3 separate regions of the Homo sapiens genome follow, and all the other regions are linked to region 2. The links are contacts of gene promoters, found by promoter capture Hi-C in human tissues and cell types (Jung and others, 2019). All regions are on one chromosome and are shown on one strand. The core of a region is centred on a gene start or on the middle of the fragment in contact, and the rest is flanking DNA. Distances in the headings are between cores, read along the strand shown.

The links. Contacts are between HindIII fragments. The study calls those that stand out against the background at their distance.
Region 1: a fragment that was not itself captured here is called in contact with the fragment with the promoter of NCAM1 in region 2 in 1 of the 25 tissues and cell types used here (dorsolateral prefrontal cortex).
Region 3: a contact is called between a fragment that was not itself captured here and the fragment with the promoter of NCAM1 in region 2, in 1 of the 25 tissues and cell types used here (dorsolateral prefrontal cortex).

Annotation. Positions count from the first base shown.
Region 1 is chr11:113,120,644-113,124,848 of GRCh38, reverse strand. All of the region lies in intron 1 of NCAM1 (neural cell adhesion molecule 1), which reads right to left. Among named protein-coding and RNA genes, the nearest start is that of NCAM1-AS1, 150 kb to the left of the region's middle. The HindIII fragment of the contact is 5,670 bases long and covers 1-4,205 here.
Region 2 is chr11:112,959,100-112,963,651 of GRCh38, reverse strand. It overlaps NCAM1 (neural cell adhesion molecule 1), which reads right to left and starts at 2,232. Exons shown (of 20, transcript NM_181351.5): 1 at 1,988-2,232. The coding sequence starts at 2,039. It overlaps NCAM1-AS2 (NCAM1 antisense RNA 2), which reads left to right and starts at 192. Exons shown (of 3, transcript NR_120563.1): 1 at 192-442; 2 at 2,176-2,285; 3 at 2,801-4,373. RefSeq lists an enhancer at 1,512-2,289. The HindIII fragment of the contact is 9,849 bases long and covers 1-4,552 here.
Region 3 is chr11:113,094,418-113,099,189 of GRCh38, reverse strand. The region is part of intron 1 of NCAM1 (neural cell adhesion molecule 1); the gene reads right to left. Among named protein-coding and RNA genes, the nearest start is that of NCAM1-AS2, 130 kb to the right of the region's middle. The HindIII fragment of the contact is 3,283 bases long and covers 1,706-4,772 here.

The sequences.
Region 1 (4,205 bases), core at 725-3,224, 160 kb before region 2:
CAGAAGTGTCGATTCAAGCTCTTTTGCCAGACCCGGAGTAATCCAGCTGTCAGTAAACGTGTCTTATACTGACTTGAATGCTGTAGTGAGAGCCCAATGAACACACACAGGAAAAATGGGAATTCTTTTTTCCTTGACGTATTATACCTTATTGCTCTGGTATCTTTTGATAAGTTATAATCCAAGGAAAGCCCTTCCAAAATAAATAGTTATCATCAGGAGCTATGCCAAAGAATGAAATACACCTCAGTTTCCCATATGTAATGAACCGCAAGACTAAAAGCAAAGAATTCAGAAATATCTTGTGACTGTAAACACACAGCAGCCACTCTACTGTACAGAGAGGGACTTAGCTATGGCGCTGTCAGCCCCTGCTTGGCTGGATTTAAAAGTGTCAGAAAAGAGAGGTGGAGATCTGTTTCTTTAGCTGTGCAGCAGAGTCCTGAGTAGGACTTGTTCTGTTGCCCTATGTTGGTGACCAAGGAAGCAAAGCTAAGGTCAAAGAGATGGGCAAGTGCACTGCAGTCTACAGAGTACTAATGATTGAGAAAAGACACCTCCGGAAAAGCTTAGGGAGATGGTAGAATAGTCCTGCGACACCACACTCCCCACTTGCCCCTCCTTCCTCCTTCTCAGTCTAGAGAAGACAAAGAAGACAGCAGGTGGAATTAGCTCCGGGTCTTCTGCCTAGTGAGAGTAGCTACAGCTTTCCCTTCTTCTTTCCCTAGCATTGTTATCCTTTCTTTCAACTAAAGCAAGAGAAAGGTGACTATCTAAGAGAATTACTTTGGAGGAGCCAGCTTGAAGGAGAACCTGGCATCCTGCTTCCCAGCTGGATGACTGCAGGGTCAGCCGCTTTGCTGATCAGCCCTGAGTCCCCCAACCACCCTGAGCAGGCAAAAAGTGAATTGGAGAGAAATGGTAGGGCAAGAGGGGTCAGGAACCATCTAGCAAAGGCTAGGATGAGCGAGCTTCCCAAGCACCAGTGGGTCTACATCCCTTTGCCAGGGTCCTACTCAAGGGGGCAGCCTGCATGTCAAGGGAGCTCAGGAAGGAAAGGCTGTGGGCTGTACCACCAGGAGCGGAGCTGAGGGGTGGCTTGATAAAGCCGGGTTGACATTGTATCTCCTACAGCCAGGAAACACAGGACAGGGAGTCCCCTGAAGGGGCTCTAAGGAGACCTCCCTTGAGTACCATGAAAAGGCCAGTATTTGGATGTCTCCCACCTGGCAGGCACCCACCACCAGTCAGGGGTACCACAGAAGCAGGCACATCTCCAGAGAGAGGATGGCAGCCATGGTCAGTGGTGTGAGAGACACTATCTCCGCCCCACCCTAAAATACAGGAAGGGAAGGAGAATGAGAAGAAGAACAGAGTAAGAGTGTCCCAGAACTAAATCAAATTCCTTTACCCTTTTCCAAGGCAAGGGAAGGGGAGGAAGATGGAAAGAGTAAGCACCCCCTCCCCAATCCAAGTCTTTTATTTTTATTTTGAAATTGATACATTAATATTTGTACATATGTATGGGGTACATGTGATATTTTGATGCATACATACAATATGTAATGATCAAACCAGGGTGTTTAGATTATCCATCGCCAGGAACGTTTATCATTTCTTTGTGTTGGGAATATTTCAAATCTTCTAACTATTTTGAAATATATATTGTTGCTAACTGTCATCACCCTACTGTGCTACCCAAAACTAACATTTATTGCTTCTACCTAACTGTATGTTTGTATCCATTAACCAACCTATTCTTCCCCTCTTCCTTCCTCCACCTACACACACCCTTCCCTGCCTCTGGTAACCATCATTCTACTCTCTACCTCCTTGAGATCAACATTTTTTAGCTCCCACATATGAGTGAGAACATACAATATTTGTCTTTCTGTCCCTGACTTACTTCACTTAACAGAATGACCTCCAGGTCCATCCAAGTCCTTTTAAAACTAAAGAAGGCAGGTGCTGGAGGGAATGGAAAAGATGAGATTTACAAAGAATATGAGAATGGTGCTTTAAACTAGACAACCCTGAGTTCCTTTTTATTATTATTATTTTTTTGAGACGGAGTTTCGCTCTTGTTGCCCAGGCTGGAGTGCAACGGTGCAATCTCGGCTCACTGTAACCACTGCCTCCTGGGTCCAAGCAATTCCCTTGCCTCAGCCTCCCGAATAGCTGGGATTACAGACATGCACTACCATGCCTGGCTAATTTTTTGTATTTTAGTAGAGATGGGGTTTCTACACGTTAGTTAGGCTGGTCTCAAACTCCCGACCTCAGGTGATCCGCCTGCCTCGGCCTCCCAAAGTGCTGGGATTACAGGCATGAGCCACCATGCCCGGCGAGTTTCTTTTTAATTAATGAAAACAAGTGAGGTTCCACCAAAAATGTTCAATTTAATACATCTTTTTTGAGGATCCACCATGTGTCAGTCACCATTTTAGGCACTTGAGTGACAATGACACTAATGAATGAAACAAAGATCCCAGCCTTCCTGTTACTTATGGAGAAGAGAGATTTAATACAGTGCAGTTAATACACTGAGTGGAGAAAAATAAAACTACTGAACTTCTACTGGGTTCAGACTAGTCGATAAACCAGTTTCAACAGCTTTCAAAGATTAAATAACTTCTTTCTGAAAGTTTTGCTCTCACAAAAACACTGAGTTCTGCAAAAGGACCTAGAGATTGAACAGGAGGGGATGGGATCTGAAGGCAAGCTGATGACACCAGGCAACTGTTATGGGCTTAGAGAGATGTGTAAGGGCACTTGGAATAGACTGAAATAGACTAGATTACCCCCTTTCTGCCTCCATGGTGTTTGCTTTCTTCACTGATTCCATCCACACCGAGCCTTATCTCCTCAGTATAATAAAATCAACCTGAGACAGGAATCAGTGCAAAGCAAGACCACAGCTGTGATGTGGACCAGATAAGAATTTAAGATCTGCTTTACATTTGCCAATGGAAGCACTGCCATGTTTTCTAAATAGTTGCTTGTAGAGAAAAAGACATTACACAGTAAATAGGTCCACATTTACAGACAACTCAAAAATCTCTGGATAGGCACCCAAAGGAATGGATTTTGTCTCCATTCCTAGTTTCTGAGTTGATTCTATTTTCCTGGAGAAGGATCTTGAAACTCATGAAGTCTGACCAAGATAAGAAGGAGCCTCTGGAGTGTTGGGGATAATAACTCCGAAATCCACAGTAAATTCTACTCCTGTCTCCTTTTTGAGGGGGATCATTGTTATTCTTCTCAAAAGCCCCTTTCTGGAGTACAGTGCCTTTTTTTTTTTTTTTTTTTTTGTAAGATTGGTGGTGTTGGCCAGGCACAGTGGCTCATGCCTGTAATCTTAACACTTTGGGAGGACGAGGCAGGGGGATCACCTGAGGTCAGGAGTTCGAGACCAGCCTAGCCAACATGGTGAAATCCCATCTTTACCAAAAATTCAAAAATTAGCGGGGTGTAGTGGCATGCACCTGCAGTCCCAGCTACTTGGGAGACTGAGGCATGAGAATCACTTGAACCTGGGGGGCAGAGGTTGCAGTAAGCCGAGCTCATATCACTGCACTCCAGCCTGGGTGACAGAACAAGACTGTCTCAAAAAAAAAAAAAAAGATTGGTGTTGTTGGAGCTCAGAAAATGATATCCCAAAATATGGCACTTTAACATGCTGAACTAAGGAGGCCACCCCCCTAATCCTCTGTCTCTCCCAAAGCACAGGATCACACAGTTCTTTGAAGTTTCCTTATCTACCCAGAAACTGGACCCCTAAAGACACAATTGCCTTCAATCGCTTCCCTGAAATTTCATTAACCAGGAAAGATGAAAACTCATATCACAGAGGAAGAGACTGAAAATTAAACATCACACCTAGAGCCTAGCTAATCATCCCAAACCATCCTCTGTTCTCAGGTCCCATTCAATTCCCAAACAGCATCATGTACAAACCATTGACTGGTCTTCAGCCTCATTCATTTACAGCCCTCGCTGCCCTCCTTCCCTCTCCCCAATGAAGAGGGCATTTAAGGGATTTAAGTATCAACCCTCTGGCATTTTCTTCGAGTTTTCGTATTTTGTATGATTCCTGTGCACATATGTGCATGCAATCCATTTGTTATTCTTTTCTCTTGTTAACCTGTCTTTTGTTACAAGGGTGTCAGCTGTGATCCCTTATGATGAGGAGAAAGGAGATCACC
Region 2 (4,552 bases), core at 983-3,482:
CCATGTGGACAGGTCGCGTCGCGGCACCCACGGGCACCGCGGAAAGGGGCATAACCGGGGTGGCCCCCGCCCAGGTGGCAGCGGAGACCCAGGGCCAGGCGGACTAGGCTTGGTCCCCACCCCTCCTCTCCGGGCCCTGCCACGGCCCCGCCCCGCCGTCAGTAGAGCCCCCGGCCCGCGGTCGGCCGGTCAGCGCACGCGCGTAGGTGTGCCTGCCAGGATGCCCTCCCCGGCGACGCGCTCAGGCCCGGATTCCGCGGCGCGAGAGTGAGCGCTGGCGGGGGCGGTGGGATGCTCCAAGTCGGCGTGAAAGAGGCGAGAGTGGGCGAGCACGGGCGGCCGGACCAGGAGCACTCCCGGTGACCACCTAGTCTCCATTTTATTTCCTCGGAAACTGCCGGGCAGGCGGGGGACCGGCCGCAGGGCGGGGTTTCTCTTGGCGGTGAGTGAGCGAGACCGTTAGGCTGAAGCACCGGGAGACTGTCCTGGCAGCTCCTGGCCGCCACCCGCGCCGCAATAAAAGCCTCTCGCGGCTTCCCGCCCAGCCAGCTTCGCACTGATTGGTCGCCGTGGGAGGGACCCGAGTTGGCTGGAGGCGGCGGCCGAGCGCTGCTCTTGTGCCGCCCGCGGAGGGGGCGCACTGGGTGCTCCCTGGCCCGCCCCGTGCGCTCCCCAACCGGGGGTCGGCCGTCCAGGGCAGGTACAACGGTACCTGGAGCTGCGACCGCGACACACAGCCCCTCCGCCCGGCTTTCCTCGATCGCTTCCCAGCACACGCCCCCCGCCCAGAATGTCCGCCCAACCCACCCAGCTCTCTGCGGCCCCTGCTTTTCTTCCTTCCCTCCCGTCCATCAGAGCCAAAGCGCAAATCCTTGGGTGGAGGTGGGGGGATGACAGCTGGAGGGGAGGGTGGGCACGCACAGAAGAATTTTCCAGGGAGGCCGGGATGGAAATAGCCAAAATGAAATGCACCTCCCTGCACACTGCCGAGGTTCTCTGGGCGGCGGCGCAACCCCCGCCACCCGCGGCAGCATCACTACTGTCTTCCTCCCAGCTCCCTATTGTTCACACTTTGCCAGGATCGGGAACCTCGCCCAAAGAAAGGAGACAGGGCGAGGTGTTTCGGGCGGCTACCTGCCATTCTTCTCCCGCCCCGTGCAACACTGGGCACGCGGCGCGTGTAAAGACACACGCGCGCACACGCGCGCGCACACACCAGGCAGCCCCAATCACGCCCTCCTCGCCCTCCGCCCCTCCGCACTTCCTCCTGTCAAAACGCGGCGCTCGACCCTCCCATCCTTCAGTGCTCGCGGCCGAGGGTAGGCTTTGCAACTAACCAGCAATTTGGCAAATGAAAAACTAACGTCATGTCGACTGGGGTGCAACAACGGTCACACCAACAACAACGGCCGTGCGATTCTGCCCATTTTGCCCCATTTTGCAAACCGTTATTCTTCTGGGGCGGGGGAAGCAAAGCAGCGATCCTGACTTTATTAGACCCAGGAATATAACGATCTGGGGCGGCTGCCCTAGCCTTATTGTTCACTCTTCCCGGAGCCGGGGCTGACAAGCCACTTCCCCCTCGGAATCCGAGCCCGTGCGGCGGCACCACCCGAGCCGCGACCTCCCCCGCCCCGCCGCCCGCCTTTGGGGAAGGAGCGCTGCCCATCACCAGCGCGGCCGCTGAGTCCCCAGGAGCCGGCCGGCTCTGCTCCCACCGCCGCGGGCGCACAAAGTGGGAAGGGCGGACGCGCCGGAGGGGCGCCGGGCGCTGGCGGCTCGGGGAGGCAGCCCCGTGCAGCGCAGCCCTGGAGGGAGCGGGGTTCGGCTGGGCAGCAAGGGCGACGCGCTCCTTTCACAGCTAAACGAAAATGACCAGCCTTAGCAGTCCACGTAAAACCACCCAAAATAATAGCGTTCCTCCTAGGAGTAGGAGGAAGGGGTAATTAGCAAACCAGATTGAGAATTAAAAAAAAAAAAAATGTACCTGCAGTTCCCAGGAAAAACAAAGTCCAGATGAGATCCTTAGTTTGCAGCATTGTAATCTGCTGGCTGGGAGGGATGTTCTTGCCGCGGTAAATTCTGTGCCCCCCCCCCTGCAGCGAGTGTGGACGGCGGCTGAGCGACAGACCTAGGGGCAGACAATTGCCAGGCTGAGTATGATTATTTTTGCAGAATTGTTTCCTGCCAGCGGCAGCCGAGCTGCGTTCACGCGCTGATCGGAGAATGAGTGACAGTCCCAGCCTCAGCACACTCGCAACTCGGAGATCCTTGCGCTGGCCCGGGTTCGTTTTGATGGAACTGGGATGGGAGCGAGGAGCGGGGGGCGGGGGTGAGAACCTCACTGTGTCCTTCCACCACGCCGGCCACAAATAGTGCCGAACATCAAGGAGGTAAGAGAGACAGGGGAGGCAGATGCGGAAGCCTGCAAAACGCGGCCTGGAGCTTTTGGGGGAGCCGGGCTCTTTCACACGCAGTCTCCCTGGGAGAGCTGGGATTTCTTTTCACACTTCTACCCTACGCCTTCGCAGGCGCTCCTGCTACCCAGCCTTCCTTAATCAGCAGTTTGCATATTTTGATAACTAGTAAATAATAAAAGCAAAATTTTAGATTTGGTTAGGTAAAGTTGTCAAATCCCTCCATTTCGATTCTAAGATCCTTGCAACACAAGGATAGCCCAGGACTTTAAGTGCGGGAAATTAGAACTTTGGAGAGGGATGGGGGTTGCCGTTGCTGGGTGTTGTTTGGATATTGTTTGTTTGTTTGTTTTATCCTAACTGTGAAGTTTGCTCTCCCACAGAGAGACATACAACACCCTTCAGCAGATCCCCTGGGAAGGAGGTGGGAAGAGACTTAAGTTAGAAGAAAACTCCGATGTTTGGAAGAGATTTCCAGAAATAACCCGAAGAAAATGTTTTCCTGTTTATAAATTCTGAAATCTGTGGTCTCTTTATTAAAATAGCCAGGCTTTTATATAGGTATTATGATATAGAAGCGTCATTAAATAATATTTTCTTACATGGGGACGTGACCTTAATTCTTAAAGATATTAATGTATAATATTACTGAGGTACCAACACAATAGGCTTTAATTAAAATTCCACCCGTGTTTTCAAAAGTAGGGGGTGGAGAAAGCGGGGTGAAAAGAATCATGTCTCAGCACCTGAAGGCTTGGGTATGTAAGGAACTAATGTGAGAAAGGTGTTCTAGATGTCAGGTTAACCCATTAGCCTAGAACACTGAAACCCTCTAACAGAGGAAGTCTGCATAAGTTCAAAGGCATTAAAGCACTAATGTTACCGGGTACTCCGTTTTTCTTCAAAGGTCGGCCTCCCCACTCCTGTAGCAGGTTTTTTGTTTTGTTTTGTTTTGTTTTGTTTCTGTTTTGTTTTTTTGAGATGGAGCCTCGCTCTGTCGCCCAGGCTGCAGTGCAGTGGCGCCATCTCTGCTCACTGCAACCTCTGCTCCCGGTTCAAGCGATTCTGCTGCCTCAGCCTCCTGAGTAGCTGGGATTACAGGCGCGCGCCACCACGCCCAGCTAATTTTTGTATTTTTAGTAGAGACGGTGTTTCACCATGTTGGTCAGGCCGGTCTCGAACTCCTGACCTCGTGATCTGCCCACCTCAGCCTCCCAAAGTGCTAGGATTACAGCCGTGAGCTACCGCACCCAGCCGCTGTAGCAGTTTTTAAAAGTCCATCCTCTACTGTCAGGACATCCATCCTTATTGGACAGGCCCCATCTCTTCCCCACTTTCCTCCTCTATAATAGACCAAGTGGGCCACACCAGTACAGTGTAATTAGCTTGGACCCCTGAAAAGTATTTCTTCCCCCAAGTAAATCTTCCACAACGTTTACTTTGGGCTATTTCTCTCATTCCAAGTATAAACAATTCAAAAGTACAGAAAAGTAGAAAGAACTAAAAATAACCCCAAATCCCACAGATTCCAGAGATACTCATAGATTTTGTCTTCTGTATGTGCATATGATTTTTATAATTGACATATTATAGTAGCAATTTGAATCCTGCTGATTTTGCCTAACATCAGTATAAGCATTTATTCCTCTGGATCATTAAAAAGCTTTTCTAGATATTTTTATAGCTATGTAATATTTCTTCATATGGATGATTTTGCAATGGTTTCCCCATTTTTGCATATTTATATTGTTTGTGGAGTTTGATAATATAAATAAGGCTTTTTTGAACATCTTTCAACAAATATTTGCGGAGCAACCACTGGGTTTAGCCCTGTGCTAGATGCAGTGAATTATATACGTCTTTTTTTAATGGTTGCTGTATTTAAGTGTCTTTGATTTCAGACTTCTGCTTCTAACATCTAAAATCACCACATTAAATATTACAGATTTATGTAAATGAATGTTATCAGACTCTTTCCTTAAAAAAGAGGTTTTGATGGTGAGGAAAGATAGAGAGAACAGGCAGGGGGTAGAGTGGGGAGAGTGAAGGTTGGGGCCCCCAAAATAAAAATTTTTCCAATTTTGCCCCTAAGAGTGAGAGACACATTCTTCCCTGCAAACCTCCCTCCTTATAGT
Region 3 (4,772 bases), core at 2,098-4,597, 130 kb before region 2:
TAGGTTTGCCTCTAATCTCCACCACTAAATAAACGTGATCTTGGGAAAATGAACATCTCTGTGCCTCAGCTTCCTTACCTGAAAAATGGAAGGAAAGTAATAGCGCCTACCTTCTAGGGTTGTTTTGAGGTTTAAATGAGTTAATATTTGTAATATGTTTACAATAATTCCCCACAGGACTTACTACTGTCACTGAGAGATACGTCAGAGAAGGGAAGCAACTTCCATAATAGTTCTTGTAAACAATGATCCTGTTCAATGGTTTTAATTATCTCCAGGAACCTGAGGACTGTCCAGTCCTAACTCCTATGCCATCATTCTCCCATGCTTCTGATTCCCATGGTCATAGACCTGCCCAACCTATATTCTTGAAAGTTTCATGAGCATTTCAGGCCCAACAAACTAGCTCAAACTGGAACGCACTGTGCTCCCCTCATCTCAGGACCTTTGCTCTACTCCAGTTCTTCACATGATGGTCATTCTTCTAGTTTCAGATTTAATGTCCCTCCTCAAGGAGTCCTTATCTGACCACTCTACTTAAAGGGGCCTCTTCCCCTGCCCCTGGTACAAAGCAAATAATTCCCTGTCCTAATATCCTGTTGTAGTTTCTTCCTAGCTGTGATCACTATATCTGAGGTTACCTTTCTCACTTACAGCCTGCCTGCCATATCCATGGGTTCTACATTCACAGATTCAACCAACCGTGGATCAAATATATTTGAAAAAATAATAATAATACAAATAAAAAGCAATATAGTATAACAACTACTTACAAAGCACCTACCTTGCCTTAGGTATTATAAGTAATCTAGAGATGATTCAATCATACAGGAGGATGTATGTAGGTTTTATGCAAATACTATTGCCATTTTACATCAGGGACTTGAGCATCCATGTATTCTGGTATCCTGATAAGGGGCGTAATCCTAGAATCAATCTCCTCTATACCGAGGGACAACTGTGTTTGCTTATTTGTTGATTCCATGCTCCTCCTGTTAGAATGAAGTTCCATGAGACCAAGTACCTGTGTCATTTATTGCCTTATCCTTGGAATTTAGATCACCACCTGGCACTTAGATCACTTAGTATCCTAAGTGGGCTCAGTTTGTTGAACACATTCCACGTCATGAATTTTATGACAATGCATGAATATTAGAAAATTTTTCTCTCATACATTTTGCCTAAGAAATATGTTTATAAATTATGTTTAAAATAAAAGGCCTTGGCGCTTGGTAGCATAAGCTTCAGCTATCTCAAATATTTAGGTATGAAGAAAGCTTCATTGCCCCTGCAACAGGAGATAAATAAAGTCTCTCTATAGTTTTCTTTCTCATACACTTAACACAAAAGCTTGTACAAATTCAACTTAAATACATCTTGATGATGATAGTAGTAATCCCACCATGATTTTAGGAATTTATGTCAAAATACATGTCCATTAATGATAAGTCAATTTATTTTGACATAAATTCATCTTGTCCTTTAAGGAACCATTTAATTGCTTTCACTAACAATTATCTAAAGTATGTTCTAAAAAACAGCTACTAACCTTAAGAACAAAGAGTTAAAAAAAAAAAAAAAAAAGCCCAAGTCACCTCTTATAAATTTCAACTGATCTATTTAACAGAGTTCCCAATGAAGCTGGCAGTCATCCTACAGGTAACCAGATCATTCAGCTAACGGGAGGGTATGTTTGTTGACTCCTAATTTGATGATAGCTCTCTATGTTAGATGAGCGACTCTACTCATTTCAGTTGAACTCAACAAACTTACTCAATTTCTACCTTGGTACCATCTTTCTGTTAAGTCTTGGAAAAATATAAGAAGTAAGACATAAAACCTACCCTTAAATGAGTTATCATTTGTGCAGGTGTCTGGCATACAGAAGATGCTCAATAAAACTATGCTGAATCCACTAAAGCAGAAGTCAACATTAGATAAAAGCCATAAGAAAGATTTACCAAGTGGCCCAAGGCCTGCAGCTTGAAGAAGTAGAAAGGGCTTGGAATTTGGAATCAGAGTGAGCCAAGATGGAATCTCAACTCTGAGGCTTCAGCAAGCTTTTTAACATGTCAGACTCAGTTTGGTCCCACATAAAATGGAGATAAGAAGTCTGCCGTCTTGCAAGACTTTCCATTAGGGCATTAGATAGGATACTTGTAAAGCATGGGATTGGCACAGGGCAGGGGGGGTTCAACAAATGGTAATCAGGGTCTGGCATGGAAGGGAGCTTGCAGGGAGTAGTGCCTGCTGTGTAACAAACTTGTCAGGGGAGAGACAGCTGGAAGACACTCCAGGTAGAGGCAGCATTGTGAGCAGAACCTGGAAAAAAAGCATGAGGGTGTATCTGGGGGATGGTGAGTCACTCTGTTAGCTACATTAGGATGGCTGAGGCAACAAGATAGGAGAATGAAAAGTAAGATGTAGTCGTGGGATGAGGGCTCTGAACCCCAGGCTCAGGGGTTTGTCATCAGTGATGCCAGTTAAAAAGGGATCCACTGCATTGAAATAATTAACAAAAGGTTAAAAAATCCAGAAAAAGCATAGAGTTAGAAGGGACCTGATCTTGTCCAATAGCCACATTTTTACAGAGAAGGAAAGTGATGAACAGAGTGCTTAGAAAACATACTCAGGGTTCAATTTCCATCGAGAAGCATTCCCTGACCTCGGAGCTGGGCTGCAGTTGGCATTTCAAACCCACTGTCCGCATTAACCTGAACGTAACACACAACCCTGTGTATACCTTTACCATACAAAACACATTAACAACACATTAACATCTCTCACGTTCACCCTGACAATTCTCTCTCCTTTATTCTGCTTCTTAAAGGTAGCTCCTCCCTTCCTCAGGCTCCCTTGTCATTAATTTTTCTCTGTCTCTCATTCCCTATTTTTAACTGATAACACATTTTGTCAATTCTATTTCAGAAAGGTATCTCAAGTTCAACTCCACCACCCCCACTTGGTATCCCACTGCTGGAGACCCAGCTCAGCCTGGAGTTGTTAGGTAAGTGCCCACTTCTCTCACAGTCAATAGCTATCCCAAGCCAGGCCATCCTTTGCTCTGTGACCCCAGTGCACTTCCTGAAGTCAGACCTGACCTTGCCAAGTCTTGCTTACAGACCTCCTTCAGAGCCTGACAGGTCTGTGTCTGAATTCCTGTGGGCCTAATAGCAATAATTAATTATAATAAAAACACTAAATGTTTACCCTGTCTCAGACATTATACTAGATATTCCATTTACGTCATTTTATTTAATCCTTGCAGCAGATTTTTAAAAACAGCTATTATTATTCATTCTACAGAAACAGAAACTGAGGCACTGGCAGATGACAGGAATTTGCTCAAGGTCACACAGTCGGTAGGAGGTGAGGCACAGGCTGTGAACCCAGAATGTCTGGGGCTAAAGCACAAGGCTAATCCAACTGGCTCCCAACTTAAATTTAGCCTCCTTAAGACCCAGTTTCTTCATCTGTAAAATGGGATTAATAAAATCTGCCTTGTAAGATTGTTGTAAGGATAAAATGAAATGAGAACTCAGAAAACGTCAGCTATTGCTATTAATTGAATGGTTTCCAGTTTCTGGAGAAGGGATTTGGCGAGTCTTAGCTCGGTGTGGTCCCCCCATGGCTTCCCTAGTATGTTTCAGGACCCCTGGGAGGAGCCAGTGCCTTTTCACAGAGTTGGCCTGAATATGGGCTGCCTGCGTTAAAAGAACCACATCCAAGCAATTGCTGGACTGTGTAGCTATTCATTTGCTCAGCACTGATTAACCACTGATTATCGACCACTGTGCTGAAAGCTGGGTAAACTCATCTTAGATGCTCAGTCTATGAGTTAGATAAGCACATACATATACACACACACACACACGCATTCTATTACAGCAAGGTCAGTGCTATATCAGAGGACAATGCAAAGCTGAGAATGTCGTCATTTGTTTTGGAAGGAATTAAAGACACAGCACAAATCCCTCATGAGTACTTAGTTAATGTTAATTTATGATGGATCAGCTATACTGCCGCTCTTCAATCATATTCTCTTTACAAAATTATTGAGTTTTGATAAAAACTCCATGAAATATCAAGATTTAGTTTCTTTCAGTGCTCAAGGTTATGAGGAAATCTTAACTGCAAGAACTCGAAGGTCTCATTTTCTGTAAGCGGTCTAGAAGCTTGAATAAGAGAAATATAAAATAATTAATCATTCAAAACCCGATACTATTTTCCCTATTTATAAAAGCCCTCATATAAAAATACACCTATGGCTGTTTGCATATGAAATAAATATGATTTAATATTAAAGATTTTCCTTTCGACATTTTTCGTTCTTGTCAATGTGACTTAGAAAAGACTTAGGCCACAGCTAACAGAGTTGTTTGACAGTCAACAACAACAACAAATCTGTTCTCCCTTAATTCCAATTCAGATAGCCCAGATGCCCTTGCTGACCTATCTGCCGCTGGCTCATTAGCATGGACTGGTAGAGCCTTGGCCTGAAAAATAGACCCCAGACAGGGGGCAGTTAACAAGAGTGTGGGGCCACAGCAGCGAATTACAAGCCCTAAGTGCTTGTGAAACATGGAATGACACCCAGACATGGGCCTCAATAAGCCTTTTGCCAGAGGAGGAGTGAGAAATGCAGGATTGAGGGTGGAAGAGCAATGGAAAAGCCTTAAGGTTTCACAAGCACAGCAAATGAAAAACTTCTCTGTTCTATGACAATGAGGAAGACTAAGGGAACAATGTAGTTCAATCTCTGAAGGTGAAAT